Regions from separate parts of the Homo sapiens genome. Here region 2 is linked to region 1. Evidence: promoter capture Hi-C in human tissues and cell types (Jung and others, 2019). All regions are on one chromosome and are shown on one strand. The core of a region is centred on a gene start or on the middle of the fragment in contact, and the rest is flanking DNA. Distances in the headings are between cores, read along the strand shown. Region 1 holds the start of ADGB (androglobin). Region 2 overlaps GRM1 (glutamate metabotropic receptor 1).

The links. The method cuts DNA at HindIII sites, captures the fragments that hold promoters and counts their contacts. A contact is called where the count stands out against the background at its distance.
Region 2: a contact is called between a fragment that was not itself captured here and the fragment with the promoter of ADGB in region 1, in 4 of the 25 tissues and cell types used here (bladder, heart right ventricle, spleen and 1 more).

What each region holds. Positions count from the first base shown.
Region 1 is chr6:146,594,691-146,600,341 of GRCh38, reverse strand. It overlaps ADGB (androglobin), which reads right to left and starts at 1,370. Exons shown (of 36, transcript NM_024694.4): 1 at 1,228-1,370. The coding sequence starts at 1,301. It overlaps ADGB-DT (ADGB divergent transcript), which reads left to right and starts at 1,411. Exons shown (of 3, transcript NR_125860.1): 1 at 1,411-1,509; 2 at 2,171-2,272; 3 at 3,838-5,651. RefSeq lists a silencer at 1,275-1,569. The HindIII fragment of the contact is 7,954 bases long and covers 1-5,651 here.
Region 2 is chr6:146,396,142-146,401,792 of GRCh38, reverse strand. It overlaps GRM1 (glutamate metabotropic receptor 1), which reads right to left. Exons shown (of 8, transcript NM_001278064.2): 7 at 2,094-3,024. Among named protein-coding and RNA genes, the nearest start is that of RAB32, 140 kb to the left of the region's middle. The HindIII fragment of the contact is 4,712 bases long and covers 966-5,651 here.

The DNA.
Region 1 (5,651 bases), core at 121-2,620:
GCCTTGGACCTAGAGGAATGGAAGCCATTAGACAACGCTGAAAAGACCTGACTTTGGTACACAGAAGTAAAGCAATCCTATTAAAATTACATATGTAATATTTATATAAAATTATATATGTAATATTACTTATATATGTAATATCTAAAATTTAAGCTAGTAAAAGGAATGGATTATCTGCCGGGTAACTGGAAACCTGCTTATGAGAGAGGTTAGAACTAAGGGACTAGAGATTCACAGACATGGGAATGAGTCTGGGAGAAGAATTCACAAAGAAAAAGAGTTTAAATCCTAGGGATCAGTGAATCATAGGGATCAGTCCAATGTGGAATTCTTCAGCCAGGGAAGGAAATGGAGAAACAGGCATCAAGGATGTAAGAATTCAATTTGAAATGATTGATTGCATCGCCCTCCCCATCAGGCAGAGCATGAAGAACATGAATGATCCCACTGAAGCAGGGCGGGCAGCTGGGATTCTCTCACAGTGGGAATGAACATTAGAAATGGTGTAAGTTCAAACAGCCCCAATCCTATGCTGTGGATAACTGGATATCCCTAGGGAAACAGACCACAGAAAATAATAATCATGGGGAAGTACATCCTAAGACACAACACCTAACACCAGCCCAGGACAAAGGCACCATAAAAATTCCATGAGCGAGGGTCTGTTTACTTTCTCAGAGTAAATGTTAGTAACATGAACTATACATTTATAATGTTTTAAGGTTTAGAAGCCACTTTACGTCTGACTATATCTGATTAAAGATCGTAGTCGTTGGACTGGGCAGATGCAAACTAGAAAATCACCATTAAGGTGAAATGTGTCCATGTCTGTCTGTCACTCGCTGTCTGTATCATTTCCGGGGCCATGAAGATGTGGCTTTAACCAGAAGTATTTGAGATATGCCTCTTTCTTAGGAAAGCTATGGCCTTTCTAACTGCCTGAGAGGGCTATGAAGAAGAGGAGGGGTGGCAGATTCACCCATGGGAGCTGAACACCCAAAGCAAGAAAATCAGGGGCTCTGGGAAAGGAAGTGAGTCAAGACAAGCAAGAGAGAAGGATGAGAGCGAGCACCTCCAGGATCTGGTTTACCAGAGAAGACAAGCTGCGAGGAGGCCACTAAACTTCTGCCCTGGCACAGTTTGCTGCAGGGAGGCAGCCCCAGAACTAGTGGTGAGGTCGAGGGGCTAGGCCAGGGGAGGGACGGACAGGCAGAGGTCCCTTACTCTTTCGATTTATCCGATCCGTGCGCCGAGTTGATACGATGCACCTCTTTCTTTTTGGTTTGTTTGGAGGCCATGGCAGAAGCCGATCTATGTAGGGCTGAGCTCTGAGCAAAGAGCCTGCGGGCGCGCTCGGCTCCGCGTCTGCGTTGCCAGGAGACGGCGTCCCGCGTCCAGCGCCCGGAGAGCGGGGGCGGGGCCCTGGGGGCGGGCTCTGCGGCCTGTGGCTGCAGAGGGACGCAAGAGCATAAACTGAAATCCCACATCCCCGTGGAGGAACTTGGAGTTGGTGTCTGGGGAGAAATCGAGGTTCTGGGGCACGGGTTTGGCATTAGGATTACTGGGCAGCCCTGATTAATTGGAGTTCTGCAGGACCTACACTGCCTGGCTTTGCCCTTCGGAACCATAGACATATATCGACTCTTGAATATCCAACTATTTGAACGTAGATGTTATCCTAGTACCACCCCAGTTATTCTCTTGGCTAAATATAACAAGTACCTTCAATAATTACTAAGGAGACATTACAGACACGCTGAAATTGTCAATGGCTTGAAAACCTGGGGTCCAGAAATTAACACAGTGGGTGTAAGGAAGGCAAAATAATGACACCTTGAGTCGCTGAGGGCTAGGTGATGATATCTGTAATAAAACCAATAAGGTGTCTTGTTGTTCGAATGAAAGAGTGAGTCCAAGTCATGGGCTCAGGTGGTCCTTTGCAGACTTTCCAGAAAAGGTCCAGGGGCCAGATGACACAGACAGAACCAAGTAAAATGAAACTTATTAGGGCGCAGGCTTAAGGCTCAGTCATCAGTGGTGATTTGTTAGTTATCTTGCCTTGGGCTAGTTTTTCCCTTTGAGTCTCAGTTTACTCACTTATAAATAGGAGATGCCTATTACTCACTTATAAATAGGAGTTATACCTAACTCACAGTTCTGTTTTGAGGATAAGATGCAAAGCGCAGCAAATAGGAGCCACTCTTTCAGAGATGACAGACCACCTGGTTTCGAGGAGCAGCAGACAGCGTGAATGAATGAAGTTGGCCAGGTAAATACAGAGTAGTGGATACTATGCTTAACTGAGACATGCTTAGACTGCAAGAGCTTGCAAATTTATCAAAACAAAACAAAATATTGTGTTGGTTCAATATAACCTCACTTCAGAGATATCTGACACACAGCCCTTAGGCCTAGGACCACTACTACTGGTTGGTGTCTTTCATGAGCCTAGAAATAGTTAAGTATCTTTAAATAAAAGAAATCCCCTCCACTCATGGGACTGGGCACATGCTCACAGTTCCACCTGTGCAGGCAAGAGGCAGCTTCCTGCAGAGAAAATCTTTCAACTTCTCTGACAAATGAATGCTCAGGGCTCTCCACTCAGCATAGCCTATGGTTTGTCAGACTATCCCAATCTTATTACTATTGGATTACTACTGGGGGTTACCTAGATGACAGACAGCCCCTTCGTTGTATTTCTATATGCAAAATAAATAAATTCCAAGTCAGCAGTGTTAATATTATGACTACAAGACTGCCCTGCAAACATCTCCTATATATGTAAAGACAATGAACACATCATGAAGATTCTGCTTTGTTTATACCATAATTCAAATTTCCAGAGAACTCTCTTGAATGAAAGTAGAGGACTAAATGGTGAGAAAAATTATTTACTACCAAATTTTGTCAGAGTAATCAAATTTATAGCTATAAGTATATACAAAGACTCTTGGCTGAAAACAGCACAACTTTAAGCAGCCAACCCCACAGAGAGGTGAGTTTCTTCTTGAACAAGGGCTATCCTGCAGCCATTGTTAATGGCTGCAAGATGCCAAAAGAATTAGGGAAGATAAGCCTTAGAAATCAAAAGATCTACATCCCACCGGTATTTTATGGACAAATAACTCCAGGCGAAGACAAGCAAAATGTCTTGCCAAAAGTTGCTGGGTTATTTATTGATGGAATTTGGACTAAACACATTAAAGTCAGCATTGCCAGTTTAAGCCAAACATATCACTACTCCACTCAGAGCTTGCTTTTTAAACATCTATTAAATTAGGATAAAGTAAGGGGGTTGTCACCAGAATGGAATAAGATAATCATAAAAGATGTGACGAGTATAAGTTGCCTATTAATTCCTACGCCAGTGTTCTTTCTCCTTTATTATATTAAGAGTGCAACATGCATAAATGGAATTTCTCTTCTTTCTGGAGCTAAGGTTCTGGTCAGGCTGTAATTATAAGAGCAAATCTGTTCCTCTCTAAGATAGTTCTAGCTACAAAGCTTAACATGATATTTATTGTGGCAGTGCAAAAAAGACAATAGGTCCTACTGCTGTTTTTATTTTTCTTATAACTGTTGTCAATGTCACTTTGGAATAATAATAATAATAGCTGTGATTTATTGAGTACCTACTACATGCAAGGTTTAGGGAAGGGTGCTAACTCCTTTAGAGATAAACTTGAATTTAAATCCTGACTCTTGTTGGGTAATTATGGGTGAGTTATTTAACTTCCATTTTCTTTATTTGTGGAAAGGGAAGAATAATACCTCAAATATGCTTGACTCATCCCAAGCATTCAGAGAATTATAGCTAATGTTATTATTCCACAGGTAAAGAACTGAAATGCAGACAGGAAATGGGACTTGCCTGACATGGAGCAGGTGGTAGGTGGCAGAGGAAGATTGGCCACTCCATAACCTGTGCTCTCTCCAATTCTCTGGACTAACTGTCCATACAGATGATTGCCCTGGGACTGAGCTTAGGGATTTCCAAACTCTTGCTATTTAACAACTGTCAAAGACTGAGAAACAGGGCTTATATTTTATTCAAGCTACCCAGAATAGGGCCTCTCTCTAATCTATACTTCCTTTTCGGGGAAGAGATATTTGGCTTCAGGCAGCAGTAGCGCCTGCTCCCTAGGGAAGTGGTTAGAGGTACCCACTTCCCCATATCAGCAGAAACAAAACAGGCAGGAGTCTCTCTGCTTGAGGATCTGCCTAAATAGGGAAGTGAGAATTGGCAACCACTTCTCCCTCCACCAATGGGAATCCTAGATGGAGGGAACTGGGTGGGAGATGGCAGGGGTGGGCAGAGTGGCAGCATTTCTGTTTCTTAAATCCATAACTCCATCTTCAGACACTTGATTCCACAGCCATAGGGAATTGTATATATTTTGCTGCTCAGCTACCTCTTTGCAATTAGGTCAATTATAAAATTACTTGGAATTTAACCAGCCAAATGAGAAAGTATGCATTCTACATGTTCTGTGTAAGGTTGAATTTAACTGTCACTTCAAGTTCTGTTCTTTTCACATTTCCATGGAAATTTACACCCTTCTCCTTTATTTCCCACAGAACTTTATTTGTTCATCTTTTAAAATTCCTATAATATTCTGTCTTGTTTTTATTAATACTTATGCCTTGTTTTTTCTCCTTTACTAGACTGTAGGGTCACTCAAAGCAAAAACTCCTCTTCTACCAAATTCATTCACACTTTTGAAGCTCCTAAACCCTTAATAATAAGAGCTTACATTTGTTGAGCACTTGCTATGTGCTTGACCCTCTTCTAAGCTATTTTTCTGTATTAATTCACTTAATCCTTACAAACACCCTAGGGATTTGCTATTATAATCTCTCTTTTATAAATAGGAACATAGGCAAAGAGTGGCTAAATTAAGTTAGTAAGTGATCAGGCATGATTCAAACTCATGGCTCTAGACCCATGCTCTTTATAACCACATTATTCTGCCTCTGACACCTTCAGTGATCACAACCCTATGAAGTATGAAACTCTGCCCATTTTATAGCGAAGAAAATGAGCTTTAGAAAGGCAAAGCAACTTGCCCAAAGTCCAAAGCACAGGGGGAATGGAGTCAAAATGCATAGGTGAACACTTTGGTTTCAGAGTGCAGGCTCCTAAACTCTCTGCTACATACACACTGCCTACTTCAGAGTTCAAAACATATTTACTTCAGATCATTGGAAATGGTATTAAAAATCACAACTGACATTCAGTTGTGTCCAGTAATATTCAGTCTCTACACCTGTTAAGGAGAAGTTGGATCCTGCAGATATGAAACCTGCTGGCCCTGCCACAGAAAGCCCCGTTATTCTGGGAAAAATTGAATTTATAGTTTTAATGACCTGTGAAAGGAAATTCTGAATAGAGGTTCTTTAAAAAATGGGGGATATGGAAATAAGTTATTAGTTGAAAAACAATTTCCATTTTGATAAGCTGCTTCAAGAAGAAGCAATGACTAACTGTAACTAAATGCTTCATCAGGATGCAAACAAACCTATTTTGTACAATGCTGCAATTATCTGTGCAGCAGATGGGTGGTTCTGTTTCCCCTTCTGGACAGAGACACTCACCCTTTGTTGTATACTTGCACTGAGAGCTACATGTGTCCCACTAGTTTATGTAA
Region 2 (5,651 bases), core at 2,072-4,571, 200 kb after region 1:
AAAAATGCATATTCCTGGGCACCAACACAAGATAACTTAATTATATAGGTTTTCTCTTTACCATAAATGGTTAGAAGAAAAACTTTCAAAAATGACCCATACCTAAAAATTACAAGGAAGCTTCTGAAGAACCATAATAAAGGCAAGGTAATTAGAAACATGGAGTGGAATAATGGTGGATGTTGTAATGGAGCCCTCAGAAAACCATAGGTGTTGCAATAAAGTGAATCTTTTAATCCTTGTGAACACTCCAGTTTAAGAAATGCCTTCTTTCTTTTCATTTTCTTTCCTCTTATTTCTTCCCTCTTAATGGAAATTGTTAGTGATGCCATTTTACATCTGGACTAATTGTCTAATTATTTTTTCCCATTTCGTGGCACTGTTGGTTTGCTTTCATGCTCCCTGATAACTCCCTGCCAGGAGTTTGCTCCTGAGGGGAGTTTGGCTAGAATAAAAAAAACATGGTAAGAGGAAAAAAAAGGCTAACCACTTTTATGATCAACATCCTATAACAAACTTAAAAATTGATATACCAAGAAGTAAGCGTACATTATTGGCTTCATCCTAGTTTTGAGAAAATTAGGGATGTCTTTACTTGAAATCCATAAAATGGATTTCAAAGATATGTTTTCCCAAAGACTCCCTTGTTAGATCCTCAAAGTATATAAATTCTGCAAAAGATGCCCACGTTGCTTCTTGGAAAGTAAAGATACAAAAACCAAGAAATTTAAAGGATGTAGAATTTTTGGCATGTGTTAAAGTGAGAAGTATCATATCATTTAAGATCTAAATAAAGAATAACTAAGGGGAATTACATTGAAAAGTTACAAAAATTCTACTATCACATTTGGGATTAAGAAAATAATAATAATAAATAAATACAAGTTATAAAAATTTACAGCAGAGTACTTTTCTCACCTACAAAATAGGGGGAAATAATGTTCCTGCTGACAGGTTCAGATGGATGGAATGATTATTAACAATGTGTACCTTATCATGATTATTATTAAAACTTTTTATTTTTAAAGGATTGTTTGAAAGAGTGAAATTAATGCTGCTGGTGGAGAAAATGACTTAATCTTTGGATACTTCGGTTACCTTTAGAACTTCAAGCATCCGTGCTATTTTTGAAATAAAAAACGTTACATGAAATTTGTTTTCATGGGTCACAGAAAGAGGTGACATATGCAAATTTAACATATGCTTCTTCTCAAAATAGAAAAAGGATAGGAAAGTGCTTATTATAAAAACAACTCAGAAGAATTATAGAAATATAATTCATCTGGACTTTGAATAGAATTCATCTGGAATTCATCTGGACTTTAATGTTCACACAAAGTCTCAAGATTGGGGCTTATCACCTGGTTCCCTTTTTTTATTTTTTTTTATTTTTTGGTGCTTTATGACTAAGAAACTATTCTGATCATGACTTTGCAGTAGCAGAGATGACCCAATTCATGTATAACATCGTGGAACATGTTTATTACAATGTACATTCCAGTTCAATAAATAAGAGAGATATGATAAGTCAGTTGCTTGCAGGATCTTATTTTAGGACATACTTGGTGCTCAGTAGTGATCAAATTTTGAAATGGCAATTTCTCCAGGTGCTAAGTTTTCCTCCCTTTCACCCCGGTTTAGAAGTGGTGTGATTCCGGAATGATAAAAATAAACCAGAAGCTACTTTCACCATGGTCAGAACTAGACATTATAATTAGTGCTTGCCTCTCTGACCCAGCCCCCAGGGGCAAAATGATGCTCCATAGAAGGAGGTCCCATGCGAAAGGGTAAGTTACTGGCAGAACCGAAGCTTCCGCTTCTAGGCAAGAATAAAGATTGTTTCCTGCTCCTTTTCTTTCAAAGAAATGAAAACAGGGAGGAGCCTCAGTTCTGCATTCTTACTGCAACAGAATGTGAGATTTAAGAAAGGGAGAAAAGATTAAGAAAGGAAGAGAAAGACATGGGGGAAATGGAAGAGACAACTCAGAAAACTAGAGGAAGATATGAGAGACAGAGAAAGAGAGAGAGAGAGAGAGAGAGAAAGAGACAGAGAAAGGAAGAGAAAAGAGAGACAAACAGGTCAGATAACTCACTTGGCATTCCCTGCCCCTGCCTTCTTTCTTCGGAAGATGTTGAGGAAAGTGTTGGAGCGGCAGGGCAGCTTGCCATCGCCAACATGCATGCGGACAACATCAGAGGTGGTGAAGGCACTGCGGACATTCCTCTCAGGCTTGGCAATAATGATGTACATCTTGGGAGTGAACATGCACCCCAGAGCCACTGTTACACTGAGACTCACTGCAAAGCAAGTTGTGATGATCTTGTAGTTGCTCCCAAAGTAAATGGGCACAAAAGCTAGCCAGATGATACAGGTGGTGTACATGGTGAACGCGATATATTTGGCCTCGTTGAAGTTGGCGGGCACGTTGCGGGTCTTGAAGGCATAGTAGGTACAGCTCATGATGAGGAGTCCATTGTAGCCCAAAGGGGCCACCACACCCAGGTTGCTGGTATTGCAGATAAGGTAGACTTCCTTGATACTTGGGTAGGACAGAATGGGCATAGGGGGTTCCATGATGATCAGGGTTACCACCAGGGTTAGTTGCACACTAATCAGAATTGAGGCAATGATCACCTGAGCCCAGGCACTCATGAACCTGGGCTTCCGGGTGCAGATCTTCTTCTTGCTGCCAGCCAGGATGCGTGCAATACGATTGGTTTTAGTCACTAAAGCAGAGTAGCACATCGCAGAGGAGAGGCCAACCAAGAGGCGCTGGAGGTAGCAGGAGGTGGTAGTAGGTTTGGCAATGAGAGTGAATGGGCACACATAACCAAGGAAGATGCCAGCTAGGATGATGTAGCAGAGCTCCCGACTGGAGGATTTGACCACTGGTGTGTCCCGGTACAGTACAAAGATTAGGGTGACAAACAAGGTAACAAGGATTCCCAGGCATGAAAAGGCGATGGCTATAATGGATTCGATGTTGCTCCACTCAAGATAGCGCACAGGAATGGGCTCACAGCCTGTGATGAGAAAAATCATTTGAGCATGAATCCAAGGTTTCTGCTAGGAATAACAACTTGCCTATTAATTACCAGAGACACAGTCATCTTTGCATCCTTCATGATTTACAGCATTTAATGCTTTTTTAAAAATGCACACTATTACACAAATAAAGATACATCATTGTCTTACCTGGACAATTATGTCCCCAAACTTAATCTTATTACAAGCCTAATGTGACATACTTGAACCTATAAAAATGATCTTTTCTTCCAACATCAGCATTATAAATAGATGTCATTCTGTGAATGGGACTCGGTTCTACATGTTCAGAAAAAGAAAACACCCAAATAAAACTTTATTTCCAGTGAGGGTTAAATGGTGATAATGGGATAGAATAAATTATTAAGAAATAAACTAACAAAACTTTTCTTTTGATGCAGCCATTGTCTGTAGGCAAGTCCAGCTCATAGACAAGTCGTTTTTGGCCAGCAGAGTGTTTTCAATGTAAATTTCATGGACTTCTTTAGAAGAATCTGCATTCTCCTGTTTCCTGCATAACTCTATATTATACCTTAAATCTCACTCTTCTCATGAATCATGAATGATCTGTATCTGAAACCTGAGGGCCTTTGAGTTAGTAACCTCTAGTGGACATATCCAGGAAGAATGAAATCTCCCCTAACCCATCTCTTGAAAGGAAAGACTAGAATTTGTTCCTAAATTCCTGGCTTATCTTTTCCTTCTAGATGGAGAATAAAATGTATTTTGTATTTCAGAGTGAGAGAAAAATTTGTCAGGCTCTGGGACAACCCCTTCACAGAATTTTGTAATCACAAAATATTTGGTCTGGGCCAATATTTCCCAAATTGTGAGAATAAAGTCATTTCCATAAATTTAGGAAAAGACTCATTGTTCTGTAGCCATGGCAACAAGGAACCACCAGAACCAGTGCTAAACCTGTCAGTCAATCAACAACTTGCCTCAGTGAACATGTGTTTGGATGCCAAGCAAGCACTGTCAGCCCTTACTTCTGATAATCACTCAGGCAGGATCAGAATCACTTCAATAAATGAGTGCCAACTAATCAACAGTCTCATGTGAGTAATCGTATTGCTACAGGTGATGTCAACCAGCTCTCAGAAGCTGCAAGGTTTTCAATCCCTAAACTCCACACTTTCTAAAAACTCCATATAAAATGAATAGTCTTCTGCTCAGAGAAAATGTATCTGCCTAGCATAACTATCCCTTACTATAGTAAGCAATTTGTTTAGCTTTTGTGCTTTTTTTTTTTTTTTTTTTTTCTTTTTTTTTTGAGACGGGGTCTCACTCTGTTGCCCAGGCTGGAGTGCAGTGGCGCAATCTCAGCTCACTGCAAGCTCCGCCTCCTGGATTCACGCCATTCTCCTGCCTCAGTCTCCCGAGTAGCTGGGGCTACAGGCACCCGCCACCATGCCCGGCTAATTTTTTGTATTTTTACTAGAGACGGGGTTTCACTGTGTTAGCCAGGATGTTCTCGATCTCCTGATCAGCCTGCCTCGGCCTCCCAAAGTGCTGGGACTACAGGCATGAGCCACCACACCCAGCCAGCTTTTGTGCTTTTTAAAAAAAATTTTATGTATTTAGTCTCACCATGTTTCATATTTCTAGAGGCTTCACCAAGATAATTTTGAAGACTCCTTATTTGATAACATTCCAGGAGATGCTCTGATCAACAGGGTCACTCACTGGACCCCCTCGTGCCCGCATTCTGTCCTTCCCATGTACTAGCATGAGAGTCATTCTCAATAATTTTCTCACTCTGGCTAATTTTACTGAGCTCTTGTTGCTGAATTTATGTAGTTGTCCTAGGATTTGTAATCATGTAGGTCTTTATATAGAAGGCACTTAAACTTAGGTCTTTGTGTAAGGTTATTTCACCTGTATCTTTATATATTAAGTCATATAACCTTTGGTTTTGAAATGCACCATTTGGTAATTAGACATAAGCTTTTTATTATGTCAATAAATAGTTCACTTTAGAGATACACAATTTGATAAATATTTTTTTCCATATCTGTTTATTCCCTTGCTGTTTCTTTGCTTTTGCTGTTATTTACATACATACACAAAGTCTTATTTTATGGGTCTTTTTTGTTTGTGTGTTTGTTTCGTTTTGAACCATATTTTTCTGTTTTGTTTGTGTGTTTGTTTTGTTTTGAATCACCTTTTTCTGTTGACAATATAAGGGATAGTTCATAAACATTAGAGGAACATGTAAGCCTAAGAAGTGTCCAATCCAAGCTGGCCCTGAGTGCTAATGTTTGGAGCTCCTTTAAATTGATAACCAATTTGCCAAAAGTGGTAGGTCACTCAGCCTTAGGTTTCTTAGAAAACCTTTACAAGAATACTTCCCGTGTTGTCAACTTATGAAAGATCACTTTATTTTAGTGATTGTGTGTTGCCTTCCTACACTCCGTTTGCTTTGGGAATCTAAGACACCATTGGCAAGCACACACTTTTGACAGAACTTAGTGGCCTCTCTTCCTTGTGTATCAGAGATTTGTCTCTGTCTAAATACAAACCTTTTTCTGGAAGAACTTATTCTTCCTATATAAAGTCACATACTAATCCTAATTTTATTTTTGTTTTCCCAATGCAGGCAAGA